Regions from separate parts of the Homo sapiens genome. Here regions 1, 2 and 3 are each linked to region 4. The links are contacts of gene promoters, found by promoter capture Hi-C in blood cells and fetal thymus (Javierre and others, 2016). All regions are on one chromosome and are shown on one strand. Each heading gives the region's core, a stretch centred on a gene start or on the middle of the fragment in contact. The rest is flanking DNA. Distances are from core to core; before and after follow the strand shown.

Region 1 (2,899 bases), core at 23-2,522, 610 kb before region 4:
AATTGAACAAAGAAATACCAATCACAGAAAATAAAAAATGAAAACGTTAAAAGAAGAAAAAAACCCCAAAAGGTATTAATAGCCAGATGCAAAGCCAAAGGTAAGATTGGCAAGATAACATACATTAGTCAGGCAACTGCTTTCAAGGTAGCTGGAATTCCCAAAAAAACAAAACAAAACAACAACAACAAAAACCACACAATCACAATGAAACAGGGAGAGGAAGGCAGGAGAAAAATCAATATGAAAACCTAAATCAAAGCACAAGAACAATGCCATTCAAGTGTCAATTATAAGTGGGTAAAGTGAGGCTTTGTAAGTAGAGAAGGAAAAAAGACATTCCAGGAAAAAAAAAAGTAATTGAGTAAAAAAGTGATTTTTTTTTTGGAAGCATTAATAGTATTCAAGCTACTACTAATCTACAAACACAGTGGTATAAGCTCTCTTTTCTGGATTTCATTACAGCCACAAAAGTCATATCAGTCCAATATGAAGCTTAAAACTCATACAATCAGAGTATTAAAGCTGAATATTAAAGATCTTCCAGTCTAATCCCCACCCTTTATTGCTGACAAAACCAAGGCCCAGAGAAGTGAAGGGACCGTACAACTCAATGGTGATTCCAAGTCACCTGATTTCCAGGCCAGTGTTTTCTATACTACACCATGTTGCTTGCCCTAGAGGCCATTGTTTTTTTGTTTGTTTGTTTGTTTGTTTTTCCGAGACGGAGTGGAGTCTCACTCTGTCGCTAGGCTGAAGTGCAGTGGTGCGATCTCAGCTCACTGCAAACTCCGCCTCCCAGGTTCATGCCATTCTCCTGCCTCAGCCTCCTGAGTAGCTGGGACTACAGGCGCCTGCCACCATGCCCAGCTAATTTTTAGTATTTTTAGTAGAGACGGGGTTTCACTGTGTTAGCCAGGCTGGTCTCGATCTCCTGACCTCGTGATCCGCCCGCCTCAGCCTCCCAAAGTGCTGGGATTACAGGCGTGAGCCACCACGCCCGGCCTGTTTGTTTTTTTAAGCCATCAAAATCCTTTTTGTCAAGTAAATCTTTGCAGAAACTCCAAAACATAATAATAATAATAATAATAATAATAATAATAATAATACAATTGACTCTTGAATAACATGGGTTTCAACTGCATGGGTCCACTTAGATGTGAATTTTTTTCAATAGAAGTTACACTGAGTGTGCCTGACTCTCCTGCCTCCCCTTCCACCTCCTCCACCTTTTCTCCCTCTGCCATCCCTGAGACATCAAGACCAACCCCTCCTCTTCAGCATATTCAATGTGATGACAAGAAGGAAGACTACTTCCACTTAATGATGAATATTAATGATGAATAGTAAATATATTTTCTCTTCCTTATGATTTCCTTAATTACATTTTCTTTTTTCTAGCTTACTTCATTATTTTTTTGTTTGTTTGTTTTGAGACAGAGTTTTTTGCTCTTGTTGTTCAGGCTGGAGTGCAATGGCGTGATCTCAGCTCACTGCAACCTCCGCCTCCCGGGTTCAAGCGATTCTCCTGCCTCAGCTTCCTGAGTAGCTGGGATTACAGGCATGCGCCACCATGCCAGCTAATTTTTTGTATTTTTAGTAGAGACAGGGTTTCATCATGTTGGCCAGGCTGGTCTCGAACTCCTGACCTCAGGGGATTCACCTGCCTTGGCCTCCTAACGTACAGGGATTACAGGCGTGAGCCACCGCGCCTGGCCTGCTTACTTCATTGTTAAGAATACGGTATATAATAAATACAACATATAAATTGTGTGTTAATGGACTGTTCATGTTATCAGCAAGGCTGCCAGTCAACAGCACGCTAATTTTAGGGGTTAAGTTCTGGGGAGTGAAGTCATAGATTTTCAACTGTACGCAGGGTCGGTACCCCTAACCCACATGGTTCAAGGGTCAACTGTAAAGGCAAAGCTGCGCTGGTCAAAGTGGAAGTGCAAGTCCTCCTGATCTGGCCTCTCTCACCCCCTTGCCTCTGCCTGTTAACACTGCATTAAAACCACAAGCCACTGTCCTCATTCATTCAGTACATCTTAAGCTTTAATCAAGAAAATCACTGCTTTATTTACGATTCACTTTGTCTTTTCCTACAAGTGTAAGATTGGTAAATCAAAGTATAACAAATCTTTCAATGTTTTTATCTTTTTCAAGAAAGAAAAAGCTAAGGACATAAAGAGCAAATATTCTCTTTTCCTAATGTAGAGCTTGCCTTGCTTCAGTACCTGACAGGTAGCTTGGTTTAACAAGACGCTTGGGAGTTCTAATCCCAACTTGGCCGGTAACCAGCCATGCAACGCTGAGAAATTCAAGCTCTGTGTCTTCAGTTCTGGTGGGTTGCTTGACATCTCTGCTTCTCAGTTTTCCCAGCCATCATCTGTTCTGCCCTACCTATGTCACAGACTAAGTCTAGTGCAATCTCCATGAAGGGGGGAATTTACTCTGTTTTGTTCATAACTATACCCCCACAGCAGCCAGAGCAATGCCAGGCACTCATGGCAGGGTCTTAAAAAAATATTTGTCAAATGAATGAAAAAAGTCAAAATAGAGAGTATTCTAGAGAGTTAACAGTTACATTCAAATGTAATCTATCCTGATTTAGTAGTACCAAACAAAAACATAACAGACAAAAGGGCATTAATTTTTTTTGTTTTTCAAGATTTTATATTTACTTTTGCTATAACAAAATGTAAAAAGACTCCATCAATCCTATCAGCAATTTGTTCTATTTTAAAATAGGCAGAGTACCTGTTAACTTTGCTATCAATCAAGACCATTTATTACCTATGGAAAAAATATTCTTCATTTAAGTACATGAAGGTTATCTGCTGGTCTGGAAATATGGAAGTTTCCATGTGAAACAGTAAAAAATAGTAAGAAGCCACAT
Region 2 (2,890 bases), core at 323-2,822, 580 kb before region 4:
AAAAAATATGAGCTTAAGAATGATTTTACCATTTAGAAACTGTGAGACCCTAAGTTACTTAATCTTCTTAAATTGCCTCTGGTTCATTGTAAAATAGAGCTAATCAATCACTTCCCTCGAAAGGTAAAAACACTCTTTATTTGACTATAGAAGGGTCTCATGCTTTGACCTTTGTCTGAAAAAAAAAAAAAGGGGGGGTCACTAACAAGTGGTCTGTTAAATAGTAAAGGTGTTAAAGGAGTCATGTGAAATTTTCTAAGAAAAAGAATGTATTCTAATGGTAGAAAAATGACATCAAGATTATAACAAGTACCCCTACTATTAGAGAATAAAATATATGGTCCAGAATGGAGATGAAATATGAAGGCAGAAAGGTATACGATGATACAGATGGTAGTAAGCAGAAAAACTACTAGACAAAAGGTATCTGGGGTTCCCATCCCACTGTGACAGCTCTGAAGAATATGAGCGGTCCCATGAAACTGCATGATTTGAGCTATATTCTGTCAGCTAAAGAGCAATCTCTTTAAACCCTGCTAATATATTGAGGCAATAAAGCTTATTTTATTACTGAAATGAAGACCTCCTTTCTCTGCATTACAATAGGGCATAAGTACTTGAAAGTATGATCCAAATACCTAGTTACCTAGTGTATTAGAAATCGTGTCAACAAAACTGTGAGATATATTTCTAAATATCGTAACAGAAGAAAATAAAAATAAGCTACCATTCAGAGATAATCACTATTAATACTTACGATGACTACTCCTTTTCTAGTCACATCTACCTTTTTGTAAACAGGCACAATAAAGGAGATAGAAAAAAGAACTCTATACAAAATTAGCCAGGCATGGTGGCACATGCCTGTAATCCCAGCTACTCGGGAGGCTGAGGCAGGAGAATTGCTAGAACCTAGGAGGCAGAGGTTGTGGTGAGCCGAGATTGCGCCATTGCACTCCAGCCTGGGCAACAAGAGTGAAACTCCATCTCAAAAAAAAAACAAAAACAAAAAAAACCACACACACACCAAAAAAACAGAAAAAAATGCTAGAAACTACAGCCTCTCCTTCCTACCTTACATGTAACAGCAATAAAAAAGCCAACAGAACATACTGGCCAAGCGTGATTCCTCATGCCTATAATCTCAGCACTTTGGGAGGCTAAGGTGGGTGGATTGCTTGAGGTCAAGAGTTCAAAACCAGCCTGGCCAACATGGCAAAACCCTGTCGCTACTAAAGACACAAAATTAGCTGGGCAAGGTGGTGTGCACCTGTAATCCCAGCTACTCGGGAGGCTGAGGCACAAGAATTGCTTGAGCCTGGAAGGTGGAGGTTGCAGTGAGCCGAGATCGTGCCACTGCACTCCAGCCTGAGCTATGAAGTAAGATTCTGTCTCAAAAAAAAAAAAGAAAAAAAAAAGTCAATAGAACACATAAACACTACTTTTACTTCCATAAAAATTCACTCACATGCTTTTTCACAAAATATTTCATGTTCTTGATGGTATTCCTTGTAGTTTCTAATAATGGCATAATTATAGACAAATTAGGAATCAAGAACAATATATAATTAAATAATCACATGAATTTAAAGCTGAACCTCATACCTGTGAGAAGAGGAGAATGTGGCACAAGATTTCATATCCAAGGATGGATCAGAGAGGTCTAATTCAAATATCTCAAGGGAAGCATTCGTACTAAATGTTGCATCCAATTGCTGAGCAGATGTTCCTATAGAAAATATATTTATGGTAACTATACACACAAAAATAAAAGATCAGAGAAACCATACAAAACAGAAGTTAAAAGCATGTTTTCCATTCTCTTGCTCATGAATGCTGCACATATGCCATTGAGCAGATGCTTAAATTACTATAGCAATGAGATTCTGGCACAGGGCTAGGAGAGGATGTTTATAAGAGTGGGTAGTGTAAATAATTTTTTAAGCCTGTATATATTTAAAAATCTCTGTAAAAATGGTCCCGTGATGGGGGCTGGGCACGGTGGCTCATGCCTGTAATCCCAGCACTTTGGGAGGCCGAGATGGGTGGATCATGAGGTCAGGAGATCAAGACCATCCTGGCTAACATGGTGAAATCCCATCTCTACTAAAAATACAAAAAATTAGCCAGGCATGGTGGTGGACGCCTGTAGTCCCAGCTACTTGGGAGGCTGAGGCAGGAGAATGGAAGGAACCAGGGAGGTGGAGCTTGCAGTGAGCAGAGATCACGCCACTGCATTCCAGGCTGGGCGAAAGAGCAAGACTCCATCTCAAAAAAAAAAAAGTCCCGTGATTTACTATATCTGCTTATAGACATATATGATATAACTATTTCTTTTTATATAAAAATGCTAACATCAAAATTGCTCTTCATTCATTCAAACTGATATTAACTGTTTTTTTTACATGCCATCTATTGTGCTTAATACTGGAGGAATAAAGATAAAATACAATTCCTGTGAAGGAAAATATTTTAGATGTAACACATCATGATCAAAATGCTATGGGAACACAGAGGAAGAACACTAAACTTGGCTGATAGAATGTCAGTAACTTGCCAGGGAGAGAGAGGCTTTCTAGAGAAGATAAAGCTTAAACTGAATAAGCTAGGTGCAGAAGAGAAGAAATTAGGTAACTCATACTATCTTCTCTCCTTTGAACTTACCTGTTGCTAGGTAAATGGGGTGATTCTGGGCAGGGCTCCATGCCTGCATGGCTGTACGATCTACTTCCTTTAACTTCATCCTGCTAAAGGGAATATTTTATACAGAAACAGCCTTGAATGACTTGAATGTCTAACACAGAACACAGATATTTTAAATAGAAACATACTGAACAAACCACTACAACATTAGTAATGCCCAACTGCAAATAAATCAAATCGGTTTAGG
Region 3 (2,700 bases), core at 87-2,586, 520 kb before region 4:
AAGCACAGTGGACTAAATCATTACTGTGCATTTTCGAACTGCACAATAATCTGACAGTGGTTTCTGTTACCTTTAAATTCCTTTACAAGTAACTAAAGATGGAAAGAAAACACAAAAATCAGGTTTGCAACAACCAAAAATATAAACTCAACTTTGCCCCCTGAAAAGAAACTTTACCAAAAGTATTTGGGAAGTACTATAAAAAGATTAAAATACTGACTTACTTTCCGCCTCCACTATTTAAAGCTGGTGTTGGCCTAGTAAGCAAGTCTGAAATTTGAGAGGATAACTTCGTCTTGGCTGCTGTTTGTTGCTGTACCCTTACTTCAGCTGCATCTGCCAAATGCATCAATGTCTTCCTTTCCGGGCTTTCTTCAAAATTCTTACAGCCAATACATTTGCATATTGAGGAACACATTATTTTTGCCTAAAAGATTTACATAAGAAAAGTTTCCAAATCAAAACCAAAATACATTACTATAAGTAGATGCCACAATCAAATCAACAGCTAATAGCATTACCTGGTCAACTGATAATAAGATTAGATGGAAGTATCTCTGGCTGACAAACAGTAACTACACATGTGGCTAGCTAGGTTAGGTATTCTTAAGTCTGACAGTGGCTGTACAACGTTTGTGGCTGTGTCCTTCCATGTCAGTTTTCCCCCACTATGAATATAGATTTTCTTCAGATATGAGTTACACATGTTTTTCATAAACATGAATGATATCCTAAAATATCAAAAATAAAGGTCATCCAGAATCCAGCCACCTCAATCAAATCATCATTAACATATAGATGACCTCCCATTTATGCATATGTATACAATTTCACATTAAAGGGATTTCACAGATGCCATTTTTATTATTCTATTATGCTATTTTTAATCTGAAGAGGGAGTTCGGGAGGGACTTCAGATTCCCCAAACCCTTCAATAACCCATATGAAACTAGTGTGTATTTTACATTTCATATAAATATATATTTTCATGTAAAAATATGTCAAATGTAAGTATATATAAAATCCTAGACCTTATGTATATACAAATATAGAACTTTCATTTTTTAGTTTTTCAAAATCATATTATCTGCTTTTCTGCATCTTGCTTTTCTTACAACTCATGGAATCCCTCCAAAGTCATCTGGCATAGCTTGAATTCATTCTATTTAACAGCTAGGTGTAAATCCCTGGTATGATGTGTCAATTTTATTGGGCATTCATTTCCCTATTGATGGGTGTTTATTTTTGTTTCCAGTTCTTGGGTACCACAAATGATGCATAAAAAGACTTTTTTGTTATACATTATGCCTTTTTATTTCTCTGAGTTAGATTTCTAGAATTGGGCTCACTGGTTAACAGGTCTGTGTATTTTAATTTTTTTTTTTTTTTTTTTTGAGATGGAGTCTCGCTCTGTCTCCCAGGCTGGAGTGCAGTGGCGCGATCTCAGCTCACTGCAAGCTCCGCCTCCCAGGTTCACGCCATTCTCTTGCCTCAGCCTCCCGAGTAGCTGGGACTACAGGCACCCGCCACCACGCCCGGCTAATTTTTTTTGTATTTTTAGTAGAGACGGGGTTTCACCGTGTTAGCCAGGATGGTCCCGACCTCCTGACCTCGTGATTCACCCGCCTCGGCCTCCCAAAGTGCTGGGATTACAGATGTGAGCCACCGCGCCTGGCCTGTGTATTTGAATTTTAAGAGATGTAGCCAGATTGCTTTTTCAAAAGGCTGTAATACCTCACATCTCATCAGCAATGTGTAAAGGAAGGCTTTCCCACATTCCCTCCAACAATGAATATTATAATTCCTTTTAACATTTTATGCCAGGCGCGGTGGCTCACGCCTGAAATCCCAGCACTTTGGGAGGCCGAGGTGGGAGGATCACCTGAGGTCCGGAGTTCAAGACCAGCCTGACCAACATGGAGAAACCCCATCTCTCTTTAAAAAAAAAAAAAAAAAATTAGCCAGGCATGGTGGCACATGCCTGTAATCTCAGCTACTCGAGAGGCTGAGGCAGGAGAATCGCTTGAACCCGGGAGGCGGAGGTTGCAGTGAGCCGCGATCACGCGATTGCACTCCAGCCTAGGCAATAAGAATGAAACACCATCTCAAAAAAATATATATATATATAATCTGATGGTGGGGATGATAAAGTGAGATTTCACTGTTCTTTAATGTATATTTCCCTGATTTCTAACGAATTTGAGTATGTTTTTGTTAGCTGTGTTTTCTTCAATGAACCCATGTCTATATAAATAAATAAAACTGTCCTTTCTCTCTATAGCACCTAGCAAGATAAACGGGCTGCATTATAAACACATTTACTCTGCTCCTTTCTTATAAGACACCAATAAATTCCACTTACCAAAGGAAAAAATGGATGTAAGTTTGTGTTAACTGGGTTACTGTGAGCCTGAATGGGAATCTAACTAAAGCAATACTTAATAAGCATCTAGTGATGACGAGAGAAAATTCCTGACCTCAGAGTGGGGAAAACATACCAATAATGGTAATTTAGATTTTATATATATATATATATTTGTTTTTTAAAAATTATCTTTATATTTTAAGAACCATAGGAAAGACATTAATAGTGTCTAACCGGAGCTCAGATGGAGAAATTACAATGACATTTAGCTTGGCGAATTTAACTTCCCCTATACCAAAAAAAAAAAAGATGTGGAGGGGAGGAAAATGGTCACA
Region 4 (2,700 bases), core at 98-2,597:
CACAGCTCACTGCAGTCTTGACATCCTGGGCTCAAGCGATCCTCCTGCCTCAGCCTCCCAAGTAGCTAGGACTACAGGTGCAGGCCACCACACCCGGCTAATTAAGAAAAAAAAATTTTTTTTTTTTTTTGTAGAGACTGGGTCTCTGTTGCCTAGGCTGGTTTTGAACGCGAACTTCTGGGCTTAAGTGATCCTCCCATCTCTGCCTCCTAAAGCACTGGGATTATAGGCATGAGCCACTGCACACGGCCAGATTGTAATTCTTAAAGCTGTACTAAAACAGCAGGAAGACTGGTAGACGTCTACTGAAATGTCAGCGCATTCGAAGTTTCTGATAACTGCAGCGCTTCCCTCCCAGACTACAATCTACAGTGACTGGCCTCTAACAGAAACATGGTTGTACCACTAGACACTCCAAGGAGTTCCTAGGAATTTGGAATTGAGACTGAGAAACTGAATACTGACTTGGAGTGGTCTGCTACACAGAAGACACACAAACCTGGAGGCAGCAATATAGTAAAGTGATTAAGACAACAGGATTTGGAGCAAGAACTGTACTATCTCAACTTTTCAGGGCCTGATTACTGTCGTAAAATCTAGATAATATAACTAGCTTAACATAACGGGTCTTCAATAAACAGCAGATTTTATTTGTACAGTAGGAGCTGCAGTTATCTGGAAGCCTAGATTTGTGTCTCAGTCATGCCACTTAACTGCTGCGTGCACAACTTTTATGTCTCGGGGTTTACATTTCATATTTATATAGAAATGTAAATAACAAGGCAATCAATACCTCCTAAGTGCCGATTAACAGTGGTAACGAAGACGAGAGAAGTAAACGAAGGCGATAAAACTGGTCAACTCTTTGCATCTGGGAAGGATGCCAAAAGTTTGCAGTTTCAAGTTCCAAGTCCTCCGTACCTGGTCTCCCACCCCTCTGTCAGTGGGCATGTGACGTAGGAGGTCCGGGTTTGTATCACCACCTCCAAGGACGAGACATTCCGGGGAATCTGAGAGTAGAAGGGGCTGTACCTCAACCGGCAGTACGCCCGCGGTTTTCCGCCTCCTGTTCTCAGCCACCATTTCCTCCTCCTCTTTCCCCTCATCTCCGGGCACGAGCTCGGCCGCGGTGGGAGCGCCAAAAATACACCCCAAGCTTGGACGGTTCCTTTTGGGGAGAGACACCCGCCGGCGGATGCGGGAACCACATTCATCCATGGCAAGGACCCAGGGCCCTATTCAGACGTCGTTCTCAGTGACCCAGACGCTAAGCCCATATGGAAGGGAGAGTGGGACGCCGGAGCCCGCTTCTACATCCACCTTGGGAAAAGACCCCAAGTTAGCTCTCAGGGCTCGCGGACCGGAAGCACGCATAAACTTCTACCCTGTCCAATCATAAGCCTCACGTGACCTGCCGCGTAGGGAGGGCACGAACAGAAAGGTGCTGCGCATGCGTATTGAAAAACCTCACCTACTCTCGCGGGTCCTCAGCGTTCTCCTGCGGAACCTTTGAACGGGGTACTCGAGCCCACAGGGGAAGAGCAGCGGAAGGGGCCTTTCGGAACGATTTGGAACGAAAGGAAGTGGAAGAAACGCGGAACCATGGCCGCTGTGGTTGCTGTTTGCGGTGGTCTAGGGAGGAAGAAGTTGACACACTTGGTAACGGCTGCTGTCAGCCTTACACATCCCGGGACTCACACGGGTAAAGTCTCCATATCCTATGCTCCATTGTAGCGCTGCAGGCATTAACCTTAGTCCTAATGGTTAGAGTCGTCCCTGTTAGCAAAACGACTCTGGTTTCTAGGCGATTAAGTTTCTCCAAGATGGGTGGGAATCTGTAATTGCCTTTGACTGTTTTAGTGTCGTCTAATCCACTCCTTTAAAGTATTTAAACGTATGAGGAAGTTGGAGTGGTTCTTAAAAAGCAGAGACTTTCCTAAGATCTCTGGATAATCTTAGTGAGGAAGGGACATTTCCAGAGTCGCCCAGCAGCAAATTCCAGATGTCTAAGGTCCCCAAACAGAACAAAATTGCATAATTTTTGCAATTTTATCTTCTCTGTGCTTCTCTATAAATTCTTTCTGGGACGGGTCTGTTACTTTCTTTTTGGTATGACAGTGCCTTTCTGTTGCTTCTCCTATAAGAATTTGCATTAAGAATTTTCTCTAACCATGGAATGAAGGGAAAATAAATGTCAGAAAGAGCAGGTATGGGCGGGAAAATATGTTCTTTTCCCCCTAAGCCCTGGAAAGCACACCCATGTTGAGTCTTACTCTGTCCCAAATATAAAAGTTTTTAACCATTCTGAATATAATACAAAACCTTTCTTTAATATCGTGTCCCTTAATTCATCCTGTCTCCATAAAAACAAAAATCTTTAGCTATTCAGCTAAGAAAAAGAAATGGTTAATTGCTGTTTCTGTTTAATCGCAGTGCTTTGGAGAAGAGGTTGTTCACAACAGGTATCCAGCAATGAGGACCTGGTAAGAATTTTTTTTTCTATTAGTAAGGCCTTTGCAAATATGACCAAAATGTTTTTCTTTTTAAAACGAGATCTGGTATTAGACTCTAACATCTTTTATTTTAGCTACTTGAATAGAGTTCTGCCGTAGGACAAAACAATTTGATAATTACTCTGAGTTCAGAAATGATGATGAATTGATTGTAGTCATGTAGTCAGCTGAGTTTTGAAGTAGGGGA

What was found. The method cuts DNA at HindIII sites, captures the fragments that hold promoters and counts their contacts. A CHiCAGO score of 5 or more calls a contact.
Region 1: a fragment that was not itself captured here is called in contact with the fragment with the promoter of HELQ in region 4 in 2 of 17 cell types (total B cells and non-activated CD4 T cells); the score reaches 6.0 in total B cells.
Region 2: a fragment that was not itself captured here is called in contact with the fragment with the promoter of HELQ in region 4 in 9 of 17 cell types (naive CD8 T cells, activated CD4 T cells, naive CD4 T cells and 6 more); the score reaches 11.4 in naive CD8 T cells.
Region 3: a fragment that was not itself captured here is called in contact with the fragment with the promoter of HELQ in region 4 in 1 of 17 cell types (total B cells); the score reaches 6.1 in total B cells.

What each region holds. Positions count from the first base shown.
Region 1 is chr4:82,845,297-82,848,195 of GRCh38, forward strand. The region is part of intron 20 of SEC31A (SEC31 homolog A, COPII component); the gene reads right to left. Among named protein-coding and RNA genes, the nearest start is that of SEC31A, 44 kb to the right of the region's middle. The HindIII fragment of the contact is 1,558 bases long and covers 494-2,051 here.
Region 2 is chr4:82,879,194-82,882,083 of GRCh38, forward strand. It overlaps SEC31A (SEC31 homolog A, COPII component), which reads right to left. Exons shown (of 27, transcript NM_001077207.4): 2 at 2,665-2,747; 3 at 1,606-1,729. The coding sequence starts at 2,743. Among named protein-coding and RNA genes, the nearest start is that of SEC31A, 11 kb to the right of the region's middle. The HindIII fragment of the contact is 2,032 bases long and covers 557-2,588 here.
Region 3 is chr4:82,930,719-82,933,418 of GRCh38, forward strand. LIN54 (lin-54 DREAM MuvB core complex component) reads right to left here. Exons shown (of 13, transcript NM_194282.4): 12 at 225-427. Among named protein-coding and RNA genes, the nearest start is that of THAP9-AS1, 31 kb to the left of the region's middle. The HindIII fragment of the contact is 5,681 bases long and covers 1-2,700 here.
Region 4 is chr4:83,454,476-83,457,175 of GRCh38, forward strand. HELQ (helicase, POLQ like) reads right to left here and starts at 1,348. Exons shown (of 18, transcript NM_133636.5): 1 at 922-1,348. The coding sequence starts at 1,218. It overlaps MRPS18C (mitochondrial ribosomal protein S18C), which reads left to right and starts at 1,583. Exons shown (of 6, transcript NM_016067.4): 1 at 1,583-1,702; 2 at 2,434-2,483. The coding sequence starts at 1,603. RefSeq lists enhancers at 596-1,426, 855-904, 1,245-1,354, 1,341-1,635. The HindIII fragment of the contact is 1,733 bases long and covers 1,155-2,700 here.